2 separate regions of the Homo sapiens genome follow, and region 1 is linked to region 2. The links are contacts of gene promoters, found by promoter capture Hi-C in human tissues and cell types (Jung and others, 2019). All regions are on one chromosome and are shown on one strand. The core of a region is centred on a gene start or on the middle of the fragment in contact, and the rest is flanking DNA. Distances in the headings are between cores, read along the strand shown. Region 1 overlaps FAM114A1 (family with sequence similarity 114 member A1). Region 2 holds the start of TMEM156 (transmembrane protein 156).

What was found. The method cuts DNA at HindIII sites, captures the fragments that hold promoters and counts their contacts. A contact is called where the count stands out against the background at its distance.
Region 1: a contact is called between a fragment that was not itself captured here and the fragment with the promoter of TMEM156 in region 2, in 1 of the 25 tissues and cell types used here (H1 embryonic stem cells).

The regions. Positions count from the first base shown.
Region 1 is chr4:38,892,064-38,898,794 of GRCh38, forward strand. The region is part of intron 4 of FAM114A1 (family with sequence similarity 114 member A1); the gene reads left to right. Among named protein-coding and RNA genes, the nearest start is that of MIR574, 27 kb to the left of the region's middle. The HindIII fragment of the contact is 3,916 bases long and covers 2,434-6,349 here.
Region 2 is chr4:39,031,096-39,038,240 of GRCh38, forward strand. TMEM156 (transmembrane protein 156) reads right to left here and starts at 1,314. Exons shown (of 7, transcript NM_024943.3): 1 at 1,131-1,314. The coding sequence starts at 1,218. RefSeq lists an enhancer at 5,832-6,361. The HindIII fragment of the contact is 30,825 bases long and covers 1-5,118 here.

The DNA.
Region 1 (6,731 bases), core at 3,142-5,641, 140 kb before region 2:
AGAGACTAAGACCTTGACCAAAGTCAGGAATGTCTGGGTTGCAATTTAAAAGCCAAGTAGTATGGCTTTTAGCCACTATATTATATGGTCTTTTAAAGTATAATATATTCTTAAAGCTTCGTGTTTATCGTCCCACTTGAATTTTTTTAGTGCACAACGCATCTACTCCCAAAAAGGATTTGAGATATCTTGATAAAAGGCATTTCATTAGCAGGATATTACAATATAAGGAGAAAACAATGTGCTGGTAGGGAGGATACATATTTTATACATCCCATGGCTAATAGAGTTTTTGTAATTGAGTATTGACCTCAACTCTGAGCTTCTTGGCTGCCAGTACATTATTTATTTCTCTTTGAAAACAAAATTTTAATTTAAATAAATATATTTTTCTGGTTTTAAATTTTTAAAGAAATTTCCTGTATTTGTTCTTATACAAAGAGAAAATATGATGGACAGTGTAGTGTCTTCCTGAGTGCAAATTTGTCATGATATTCTTCATGTTACCATTTCTTATATTCTCTCTTCATGAGAACTGAAGGTATAACATCAATATGTCTAAGATAATTTAGCAAAGGCATTTCATCTTGAAGGTGGAAGATAAGAAGATAGGGGAAGCCACAGGTAACAGAGTTTTCACATCATCCACTTCAGGTATTCTAAGGTGCAGTCCATGGCCATGAGGACCTTGCGATAGGCCATGAATTGGTCCACTTCACTGTTACTCCTAAAACCAGGAAGGTCTTCAGGCCTTTTGCCCCACCCCAGTGGACCATGACCACAGTGTTAAGGGCCAGATATCTAACTTGACAGAGCTTAGGCTGCCTGGAAGAATGGATAGATTGCATTCCTCTAATTCCATCTCTGTCAAATATCAGTTTGCTCAGGAAGGCTCTGGGAAGAAGTAGCAATGGCCAAATAAATGTTGACCTCTCTGGTAAGCCTGGAGAGCAGATTTTCTCTATTGCTTATTAAGGGGATGGCTATGCCTTGAGTACCACATATGCAGATGACAAATTTAACTAAATTCAAGTAGAGGCGCCTGTTTTGTTTTCTGAACAGGATGCTATCTCTTCACAAGGGTGAGGACAAGCACCTGCAGGCATCCTCTGTCCTTGGAAAAATGTTTGAACTTAGTGGCTATCAAAAGGATCTTGCCACTGGTGGCACTTAGAAGTGACATGCTTTCTAAGCCAAAAACTAAAAAGGAGGTTCTAAAAGATTGTTTTAATTGGAATAAGTCATGAAAAAGTAAATAATATGGTCACTAAAATTATACAGCTCTTCTCGTGGTTTATATCATAAAACAGTCATGTGTCCTGGATGTTTCCAGTTTTAACCGCATCCAAACCACTCTGGTTTATAATGAATTGGTGGTTCGAGGGTTCTAGTATAGATGGAGGACTTACTCTTTCATTAAACTTTTAAATATAAGTTCCTGCCACAGTAAACACAGAAATCATCTGCTCTGTGGTAGCAGCTATAGGTGCTCTCTGTGCACACTTAAAGGTGCATCTCCCTGTAACTGCTCTAGCCCTGGTTGGTCAGACCATTTGCTGTTGTTTCTCATTCAGTGTCTGTACCTCATTTGACTTTGGGCTTTGTTGGACCCTCCCAAGGTTTTCTGTCCATGAACTGACAGCTCTCCCATTGAATTTACTATCCAGCACCTTCTTAGGTGTCTTGCTATAATCTGACCTTTGCACACATGCAGCTTTGGTTCCAGTGGATGGTGCTCCAAGGCCTCCGGGTTTTGTCACCTGGTTCACATGTAACCAGTAGATGGCGCTGACTTTACTGCTTAAAAAGTGGGATGTGGCCAGGCATGGTGGCTCACGCCTGTAATCCCGGCACTTTGGGAGGCCGAGGTGGATGGATCATTTGAGGTCAGGAGTTCAAGACCAGCCTGGCCAACATGGTGAAAACCCATCTCTACTAAAAATACAAAAATTAGCTGGACGTGGTGGTGGGTGCCTGTAGTCCCAGCTACATGGGAGGCTGAGACAGGAGAATTGCTTGAACCCAGGAGGTGGAGGTTGCAGTGAACAGAGATTACGCCCCTGCACTCCAGCCTGGGCAATAGAATGAGAGTATGTCTCAAAAAAAAAAAAAAAAAAAAAAAAAAGCAGGGTGTGATTTTTCACAGCAGGTCCCTTTTGACTTGATCCGACGTCATTGTCTTAATCTGCGGCCTGTGCTTGTGTTTGGGGTTGCTCTTAAAGTTTCTCTGTGTCTGAGCCACCATGCAGATAATAAATACTGCATCTTGTTACTCTCACAACAATTTATAAATTGTGATGGTTCGCATCTGGCTCTGAGTAATCATTGATCCAGAAGAGCCTAGAGAGGTAAATTCCTGTAGGCCATCATGAGCATTGTGCCAGTCACATGGTCACTGTGCCATGAAAAATAATATCCCGCTTTTTAAGTAGTAATGTCAGCACCATCTACTGGTTATATTTGAACCAAGTAACAAAACCTAGAGGCCTTGGAGCACAGTCCACTGGAACCAAATCTGCACGTATGCAAAGATCAGATTACAAAAGGACACCTAAGAAGATGCTGGATAGTAAATTCAATGGGCGAGCTGTCAGTCCGTGGATGGAAAAACTTGCCACTTTTCTTCTAGGGTGAGTAAACACGTGGTTTCTCTGAGAGTGTATGACATTTGCACATTCCTCATGCAATATCAGAATGAAGTTCAGTATACCCTCTTGTATTAGTTTCTGTTGCTATGTAAGGAATTACCACAGTTAAAGAGGCTGAAAACAACATGCATTCATTATTTTACAGTTTCCGTGGGTCAAGAGTTCAGGTATGGGACAGCTGCTCATGTAAAATAATGTGAGCTTAACAGGCTAAAATCAGGGTGGCAGCCAGCTGTATTCTCATCTGAGGCTCACTTTTACCTGAGGCAGCATGGCCCTGGGGTTGACACTATGCTTGTACATAATGGAAGTTGTTCCTCGCTTGCCTCTCTCAATCCCAAGATAATGGCTCAACATAGACCACAGATCAGGAAGGCACCCATAACTTTAAAGTCTCTGGAGGATAGGGTGGTGCAGCTAGAAGGGGGCCCAGAGTCGAAGATGAGGCCAGTGGCTCTGCCAGCTGCTCAGCTGGCACCTCTGCTTTGAAGACGTCATCTTTCAGGGTCATTCACGTTGTTGGCAGAATTCAGATTTTGAAGTTGTAGGACTGAGGTCCCTGTTTTCCTGCTGATTATTGACCAGGGCTCACTTTCAGCTCTTAGAGGCTGCCCTCAGGTCCTCCTTCAAAGCCAGCAGGAAAATCTCTCTCATGCTTCAAATCGCTACCTTCAGGAAGGGCCCCTTTGTTTTAAAGACGCTCCTGATTAGTTCAGGCGCACTAAGGATGATCTCTCTTTTGAGTCACTGAAATTCAACTGATCAAGGACCTTAATTACATGTGAAAATTCTCCCCATCATTGCTGGATAGAGTAACCTAATCACAGGGGTGAAATCCCATCCTGTTTACACTCCGGCTCACACTCCAAAGGGAAGGGATCACATAGGGTGTATACATCTGGGGACAAGAATCTTGGGGCCGTCTCTCAATACGGTCATGCTTCACTTAACAATGGGAATACCTTCTGAGAAATGGGTCGTTGGGTGATTTAATCATTGTGCAAACCTCCAAAGTATACACAGACCTACACAGCTAGGCTATGTGGTAAAGCCTATTGCGCCGAGGCTGCAAACATAGGACAGCTTATTACTGTACTGAATACTGTAGGCAATTGTAACACAATAATAAGTATTTGTGTATTTCACACATCTAAACATAGAAAAGGCACAGGAAAAATACAGTATTATGATCTTATGGGACCACTGTCATAGATGTGGCCCGTCGTTGACCGTAAGTTTGTCATGTGGTGCATCCCGCCTACCTTAATTCTCTTCTCGTCTCTGTTTGAGATCTTTGTCAGTTACACCACCAATTACAGAACCTTAGTATTTTCTATGGTTCTGGCTACATGCTGGAATTTTGAAAAGCAAGGAAATCTTGGCATTTTTCTCTTGTTTGCATACAAAATGGCAAAGGGTACATGAGGAAAGTCATTAAAATTTTGAAATATTGATGCTCATTCTAAAAGTCCCTTTGGAGAAATTTTAGAGCTGTCTTTAGAAAAGCAGGTACTAAAATTGTTCATCACCACTGATCATCACTACCCACCTCCTCCCCCCAAAATGAATGCAATAGAAGTATAACTGAAAACCCTGCCTAAATTGCTCTTACTGCATATTTTGGAGATTTCTGATGAGGACATGCTGTGACTTTATGTAGTAATAGTAGTTAAAACAAAAGCAATGTATATTTCAAAATTGGACAAGTGTCTTTGTAGACCTGTACAGAACTAAAGCATGTAGCCTAACAGGAGGCTGAAGTCATGGGTTCCCAGGCTGGAAACAAGCACTGGTGGTTGGGAGTTTGACTGCTGAAAGGTAAGAGGGATCATAAGTTGCCCACACATGGAGCCAGGCTCACAGCCTGAAACAGGTTGGAATGGGGCTCAAAGATCTGTGAACAGAGAATTTAAAGTTATGTGTGCCTTCCTGATCTGTGGTCTATGTTGAGCCACTATCTTGGGATTGAGAGAGGCAAGCGAGGCACAATTTCTGCTATGTACAGGCATAGTGTCAACCCCAGGGCTTTACAGCATTAGCAGTTTATTATCATCAGGCAAAGAAACTTATTGGAAAACAGATCATTCACAGTAGTAGACAAGCTTTGAAGATTTATAAATTGCCTGTGGAAAGTAAGGAAAGAAAATAACCACATGTTCAATTGCAATTGATGTCTACTCAGAAACCTCATGTATACCCCCAGGGTAATTCCAGCTGCAGACAGGGGTGCAAAACATATAGACATTAACAAAACACAGAGCTGTCAATTGAGCACTAGAAATGGAAACCATTACCTCTAACAGTTGTTGAAAAACTGCAGTTAGAATAGTTAGAACTGTTGAGAGTTGGCAGGAGAATAACAGGAGAATAGAAACAATTGAAAAATGGTAATCTCTTGGAATGAGCACTGTACCATGAGTCATAAGACCTGAGACCTGGTCCTGAATGCTGCTAACTTGTGATCACAAGGCACTGTTACTAACTAGCTACACTGTGCCCTTAACCTAAGACTCAGGTTCTTTGTATGGAAAAACGTGGGTGAAAAAACTGGAGAAATTCTAAGGTCTCTTCCAACTTCCAGAATATGTTGATACCATATCCTGTGTCTATGCATAGAAGGAGAAAGATATTTGTGCCCACTGTGCTAAGTGGAAAAATACAGAAAATTAATTGAAATTATGTCTACTCTATTTTTATATTTTATCTTTTGCCTCAATACTCTTTCACTCTGAGGTTAAGGGAAAATGAGAAAAAGTGACCTTCCTAATGCTTATACAAAATCAAACATTTTTCAGCCAACAATTATTTTGGAGAGGACTTAACTCTTGCATTAGGCTCAACTACAGCTACACTGTCATCACATTCTTAGAAGATTTGATCACCTGTCACCCATGCCTTTGGACAAGTTTGTGAAATGAAGTAAGCTTGGTTATTATTTCCAGGCAGACACAAGAATAGAAAACATTTTAGAAAAGAGGGTTTTTGGGGAGGCTGAGGCAGGTAAATCAACTTGAGGTCAGGAGTTCAAGACCAGCCTGGCCAACATGGCAAAACCCCATCTCTACTAAAAAAAAAAAATACAAAAATTAGCTGAGTGTGGTGACATGCCCCTGTAGTACCAGCTGCTTGGAGGCTGCGACAGAAGAATCGCTTGAGCCTGGGAGATGGAGGTTGCAGTGAGCCAAGATTGCACCACTGCACTCCAGCCTGGGCAACAGAACAAGACTCTGTTTCAAAAAAAAAAAAAGAAAGAAAAAAGAAAAGAGGGTTTTGATAGTAGTTCCAAATCCCACAGGATCTTATAGACCTGACTTGCTTCCAAAATGTATTACTAGGCTAAGAGTGATAGACCAGTAGTCAAAATGAAAGTCAACAATGCTAAAACATGTATAAGTATACAAAAGGAAGAGCTCTATAGTAGAATACAGTAATTTATTTCTAGATACCACCAAAGGCTTAAATGTTTATTTGAAATTCTAGTTTTGACAGTTTTATGAGTTTAAACATCTTATGCAAGAGTACCTGAGGTTGGGGGTTGGTGTGTACGGAATGTACCTGATATGTATATTTACTTTTTCCAAAATTATCATTGTTCCCCTTACTCATCCTCTCCCAAGGTACATAGTTTTTTCCTTCTGCACATTTTAATGAAACTCTTCTAGCAGCCCGGTCAGAAATGACAGTGTTTATTACAGAGAATGGCAAACTTGTCAAAATGATACTACGATGAGAAATCATCACCGTATAAATCACTGTCGATAGCGCATGGATTCATTTTTGAAGGTGACATTGCTGATGATATGAAATTTCTCAAGGAACATTGAGACAAAGAGAATAGGAATAATGCTTAGAGTTTGTCCATCGTCCTTTAGATTCTATGAATAAAACACAGGGGTTAATGAGTTTCTGTTGGACTTCTGGGCAAATATCATCAGTTCAGTAACACTTCTTGTCTATTTTGAGCCTAAAGGGAAGTAAGCATCTGATTACAGAGTGGACATCAACCATCATATGGAGAGGAAAGACTATTCCAAAGGAAGGTTGATTGGCTCCCTTTTTGCTGCACTATAGTTCGCTTTGGTT
Region 2 (7,145 bases), core at 64-2,563:
ATATTCATTGCAGCAAATAATCAAATATGAGTTTTTCTCTGATTTTAATCAAATTCATATAAAGACTATTTAATGATAGAATACAGCCTTTTCTTTTCACCTTTTCTTCTTATTAAATGCTAGGGAGCACAATTACCATTTGAACCTCACATTAATAAATTTTCAAGTCCTTTGCTAACATCAAAATAGTTTAAATTTATACCTATTTATTTTCCTAATCTAGGTTTCAGCAATTATATCACAATTTTCTGAAACGTTCACAAAGTTAATTTTGTTCCATTTTTCTCCAGTTACAAATACATACACATACATCTGTTTAAATTTCCACTCACCTTATTTTGATTGTATTTTCAAAATATATAAACGCTTTTTCTTGTCAAAAGGTGACGGTAAGTTATCTGTGTGAAATAGTTGTAGTAAAGGGAATTCTAGCATTTTTAACACAATAAATATCACTTTCTTCATTAAAGAATTCCAAAATGTAAAAAGCATACTTAAAGCTGCTTTGGGCCAGGCACAGTGGCACAAGCCTGTAATCTCAGCATTTTGGGAGGCCGAGGTGGGTGGATCACAAGGTCAGGAGTTCAAGACCAGTTTGGCCAACATGGTGAAACCGTGTCTCTACTAAAAATACAAAAATTAGCCAGGCATGGTGGTGGGCGCCTGTAATCCCAGCTACTCGGAGGCTGAGGCAGGAGAATTGCTTGAATCCGGCAGGCAGAGGTTGCAGTGAGCCAAGATTAGGCCATTGCACTCCAGCCTGAGCGACAGAGACTCCATCTCAAAAAAAAAAAATAAAAAATAAAAAAATAAAAAAAAACTGCTTTGAAGAAAGTGTTTCAAAGAGCAAAATCATGATGCAATTATTGTAATCTCAATGTCTGAAATCTAGACTACAGATTTTAAATATTTTCATTTTTAGGTATGCTATGATAATTAAGTACTATGAATTAGGTTACTGTACTATATAACAGTCAACTAAAATTGCAATCTTGTTTTATTAGTTTTTCAGATCTAGAACTTCAGCCTATGCAGCATGTGTCCAAAAAGAGGATCTTTTCTGTAACCACTAGCTGACACTAATTTTTTTAAATTAAGAAAGGAAAGCTAGATTACAATTATATACTCACCTTTCGGTGTCTTGAAATATTCCGGCAAAATTAAAATGAATGTGATCACTATTGCCACAAATAATTTAAGGAGGGCTGTTTTTGTCATGTCTCTTCACATGACACAAATGTGTTCCCTTGCAGTACATTCATGGTATGTTGCTTCCTGCTTTAAGTTTATCTCTGCAGCACTTTAGGTTAATGCAGTTCACCTCATACTCACTTCCTTTTGAGTAAGACTTAAAAAAAAAAAAAGGTCTTGAACTGAGACTTCACTTTTGAGTCACTTCCCATTAAAAAAAAAAACTACCCCCCAAATAAGCACTTTCAGACCATTTATTTGTCTTTCTAAGCAAGAAAGGTAAATAAATGATCTCAAGAAGCAAGGGGATCTTCTCCCCACCCAATTTATAAATATAAACCCACAGTATACTCACAAAAATAAAACGGTGGGCTGGGCGAAGTGGCTCACATCTGTAATCCCAGCACTTTGGGAGGCCAAGGCAGAAGGATCACTTGAGTTCAGGAGTTTGAGTCCAGACTGGTCAATAGAGCAAGCCCTCCTCTCTACAAAAATAATTTTAATATAGCTAGGTGTGGTGGTGCACTCCTGTAGTCCCAGCTACTCAGGAAGCTGAGGATCACTTGAACCCAGAAATTTGAGACTGCAGTGAGCCATGACAGGCCACTGCACTCCAGCCTGGGTGACAGAGTGAGATCCCTTCTCAAGAGAGAAAGAAATAAAAGGGTGAATGTCAGTCATGTCTAGGTTGCATGCACATGACTCATTCATTTACTTATTAAATGATTGTCGATCCTGTTTGGTGCCAGGTGCTGTGCTGAATTCTGGTGTTCAGAAAATAGTACATCTAGAAGATAGAAACATTTTAACCATTGCCAATTTAAAAGGAAAAAAAAGTATTGTTTAATTTGCATTTGTTTGGTTGACAGTAATTCTAAAGATTTTTAATATTTGCTGGCAATTTGAATTTCTTTTGTTAATTGCATGTTCATGTCTTTTATTGCAGCATTTATATCCTTCCTGTTGATCTATAAGACTTTTTTCTCTATTGGGAATATGAAATCTTTGCATATGTTTTGCAAACATTTTTCCCAGGTTGTCATTTGCCTTTTCATTTTGTATATGGTGGGAGTTTTTCCACCCAACTATTTTGTAACAGAGTATAAAACACGTACCTAAAAGTTTTATGCAGAGAAACACAGTTCTTCATTGTATTTCTAATATTACACGAAATAATGTATAGTTTATCAATTTAATCATTTATTCTTTTGTTTTTGTTTTTTGTTTTTTGAAACGGAGTCTCAATCTGTCTCCAGGCTGGAGTGCAGTGGTGCAATCTTGGCTCACTGCAACCTCTGCCTCCCAGATCCAAGTGATCCTCCTGCCTCAGCCTCCTGAGTAGCTGAGACTACAGGCATGCACCACCACGCCCAGCTAATGTTTTGTATTTTTAGTAGAGACGGGGTTTCACCATGTTAGCCAGGATGGTCTCGATCTATTGACCTCGTGATCTGCCCACCTCAGCCTCCCAAAGTGCTGCAGTTACAGGCGTGAGCCACCAAGCCCGGTCTCATTTATTCTTAAATACAAAGTTTACTTGCAGCCTGATTTTGGCTTCCTGAAATGCACCAAAACTCGGTCATCTCCCTTGAAGTGGCAACATCTGACTCTCTAACATCCTGTTAGGGTTGATGATAATACTAATGGCCCACATCTCCATAGTTTTGTTTTACAATTTCCAAAGCACTTTTACAAATATTAGATTATTTTTTAAAAACACAAATATTAGATTATAAAGGGGATTCTAGGAACTGCTAGAAATGGCTACAAATCTGCAATTACTTACCCACTGCAAGCTTCTCCTTCCTATTTCAATGAAGGAATAAGAGATTAACGAATCTCAAACACAAGAGGTTGTTGCTACTACGCTAGTGTTTAACTTTCCTAAGTCTTATATTTCATATCTGAGATCCAGGTTCTCAAAAATACTTTAATGTGTTTCTATTTCTAATCAAGACCAAACGTCTTAATTAAATAATTATGCATTCTGTGTTAGATACAAATGTTTAAAATTGAGAGGATCTTTTATATCAAGGAGGTGCTCTACCCTAGGAAAGCAAAAGCAATATACTTTTTAGAAAATTATAAATAGCAGCCTTAAAAAGGATAGTTTAAATTTAACTTCTACATATTTATTAATATACGAAATATACGCTTTTATATACTTTATATGAGTAATTTTTTTTCCTAGTTGAAACTGTCCTCTATCCCTTCACTATATTCTGTGGAAAGGTCTTTATTGGATCAACAGCAGCAGCAACAATCGATGGCATTTACTGAACATTTACTATGTGCTACTGCAGTGTTGAATGTTTTGTATGAATTATTTTATCCAATTCCCCAGCAACTCTCTCAGGGAGTTGCTGTTATTCCAATTGGATAGACAAAGAATATGGGGTATAGCGAAGTCAAGTAAGGGCTCAAAAGTCACATAGTTAATAAAGGGTGAAGCTAGGTGTCAAACCTAACTCTCAACCCAACACTCCATTATACCTCCACTGTCAGACTGTGTGGGAACATTTGTCAAGAAGGGCCACTTATAAAATAATAATCATAGCAAACACCAATACAGTTTTTACTATGTGCCTGATGCTGCACTAACCCAGGGTTTCTCACTGGTGGCACTATTGATATTTTGGGACAGGTCATTCTGTGTTGTGCGGGATATCCTGTACATTGTAGGATGTTCAACAGCTGGTTCCAGTAGCAGCCCTCTCCACCCCAGTTTTTATTTTTTTAATTAAAAAAAACAAAATTAAAAGACAGGGTCTCTATCACTTATGCTGGAGTGCACTGGCATGATCACGGCTCACTGTAGCCTCGAACTCCCAGGCCCAAGCAATCCTCCCACCTCAGCCTCCTGAATAGTTGGGACGATAAGCATGTGCCACCGGGCTTGGCTAATTTTAAATTTTTGTAGAGATGGGGCCTCACTATATTACCCAGGCTGGTCTCAAACCCCTGGCCTCAAGCAATCATCCCACCTCAACCTCCCAAAGCGCTGAGATTATAGGCATGAACACCACACCTGGCCTCCCCGCCCCAGTTTTGACAAACAAAAGAAAAAAAATGTTTCCAGATATTGTCAGATGTCCCTGGGGTGACAAAACAGCTCCCAGCTGAGAACCACTGCATGAAACGCTTCACTTATATTAGATCATTTAAAAAATTTTTTTTTATTTCCATAGATTTTTGGGGAACAGGTTATATGAGTAAGTTCTTTAGTGGTGATTTGTGAAATTTTGGTGCACCCATCATCTGAGCAGTAAACACTGAACCTAATTTGTAACATTTAATTGTTGTAACCACCTTATGAAATAGTTACTATCATTATTTCCATGTTAGTCACTTCAGGCCAGTTCTATTCTAGGTAACCTAATCAGCCAGAAAGTAAACTTAAAAGACAATCCATAACCTGGATCAGCCTAACTACTTATCTTTCTTTTCTTTTTTTTATTTTTGAGACAGGGTCTCGCTCTTTTGCCCAGGCTGGAGTGCAGTGGCACAAGCAAGGCTCACTGCAGCCTCAACCTCCTGGGCTCAAGCAATCCTCCCAACTCGGCTTCCTGAGTAGCTGAGACTACAGGCACACATCACCAGGCCCAGCTAATTTTTGTATTTTTTATTTTGTATTTATTTTGTATTTGTATTTGTATTTTAGAGAAGGGGTTTCGCCATGTTGGCCAGGCTGGTCTCAAGCTCCTAGGCGCAAGTGATCCACTCAGCCTCCCAAAATGCTGGGATTACAGGCGTGAGCCACCGCTCTTGGCCCCTAATTACCCCTAATTGTGTTACTGGCAGATAATCATCTACTTTGGCAACACAGCAATTCTTAGATTAACACATTTTTGTGGGGAAAAATAATCTCTTTTTAACAAGGTCTACCTGAGTATGGAGAGGGTCCCCGGAAATTCCAGTATCCTCATTCATTTTGTGGTCCATTCAAAAAATATTTACCCAACACTAACAAGACACTAGGCAGCGTCCTGAACGCTGGAGATCTAGCAGCAAGCACGCAAGGTTCTCACGCTCACATTCTAGTGAGAGCGTACATTCCAATGAGAGAGAGTAATTAAGTAAATAATAATTTATTTTCAGTTATTGTGGGTGTCCTGAAAAAAAAATCGGGCAAAGTATGAGGGTGAGATGTGCCAGCAGAAAGTTGGGCAGGGCACATGTTGGTTTAAATAAGGATGTTAATGAAGGCCTTGTCATTAATACAACACTTGGGAAAAGGCAAAACCACAGAGACAGAAAATAGATCAGTGGTTGCCAGAGGCTGGAGACAGAGGGAGGGGTTAATGACAAAGGGACATAAGGGAATTTTTAGGGTGATGGAAATGTTCTATATCTTGATTATGGTGGTGATTATACAACTGTGTGTTAGTCAAAATTCTAGACCTGTACCCTGAAAAAGATGTACATCATTTACTGTATATAAATTATAATTTAATAAACATAATTCTGTCTCTCTCCACTCACACAGCCTGTTTGCTATTTTAGAAACAGATAATTAAGAAAGGGGCTGTGGTGTCTCTGAGGCTGGCGGCTCTCCCCTGGGCTGGAGCTTGAACTTAATAGAGCAGAAATCTAGAGAGAACCTCTGAGCAGGCCAACAGGAGACAGCAGTGGTACCTTCAGTGGCTGTGGCAAGGTTGCGGCAAAGAACTCCATGACATGAGTGCACACAGGAGGTCACCCCTTCAACAGCCAGGTTGAGTCAGCCCCTCAGAGAACCGGAAAAGGTGCTCAGCACTGCTCAGACCCCAGGCTGCGGGTCACTGAGCTGCCTTATCTTTGTTCACTCAGTGCATTTCTTTTTTATCATTATTATTTTGTTTTTTTTGAGATGGAGTTTCGCTCTTGTTGCAGTGAGCGTGATCTCAGCTCCCTGCAACCTCCGCCTTCCAGGTTCAGGTGATTCTCCTGCCTCAGCCTCCGGAGTAGCTGGGATTACAGGCGTGCGCCACCACGCCTGGCTAATTTTTGTATTTTTAGTAGAGACGGGGTTTCATCATGTGGGCCAGGCTGGTCTTAAACTCCTGACCTCAGGTGATCCACCTGCCTCGGCCTCCCAAAGTGCTGGGATTACAGGCATGAGCCACTGCGCCTGGCCCACTCAGTGCATTTCTCCTGTAAGTGGGGAAATATGGTTTGACCTGCCACCACCGGGTTTAGAATCCTCAGTGGGCAGAGTTTGCCCCAGGCCCTCACACTCAGGCCTCCTGAGACGTGGCTGGTCTTCTCATGCGCAGCCCACACAGGGCTGCTTGGCCCATTGTGTCCTGACCCCAATCACCTGTGGCTGGAAAGGCAGTTTGTTTTCACTAACAAAACCCCCTGCACTGAGACTGCAGCTTAGACAGGAAAGAACCTGTTGGAGCCTCTTTCCTCAAAAGAACTATGAGTCAGGCTTGTCTGCCCAGCTGTATACTCACAGAGTTGCGGGGACAAGGAGGGAAAACCACCCTGGAATGGATTCTGGAACCACTGTGGTATATTTCAGCCTCTGGAAACAAAGTCTGGCAACCGAACCACAGAATTCATTATATTGTTAATTACATGCATAAACAGGCAGGAAAGCATAACCAAAACATTCTTCATGATGGTAAATATAACAACCATTGAATATGTACGAGATAAAGTAAAATAAATTGCTCAGAGTCTGAAAGTATCAGGCCTAATAGATCCAGTCTCAGATAAAAAGAACTGGCTGCAACAAGAGAGCCCGTCCGACTCTAAGTAATACCATTTCTTGGTTTTCTTGGGGATAGAGCAGAGGAGAATGAAATGCTTGGTTTTGTTTTTTTTTGTCTGTTTGTTTTTTTCTTCCTTCTTTGTATTGCTTAGCCCGTTGACTCTGAATGTCTTCAAATGTGTACAGAGAGTGCCACCCTCTATTCACTCACTGTTTGTGTATTTCAGGTCAGCTGCTTGTTACTTAGCTAGAATCT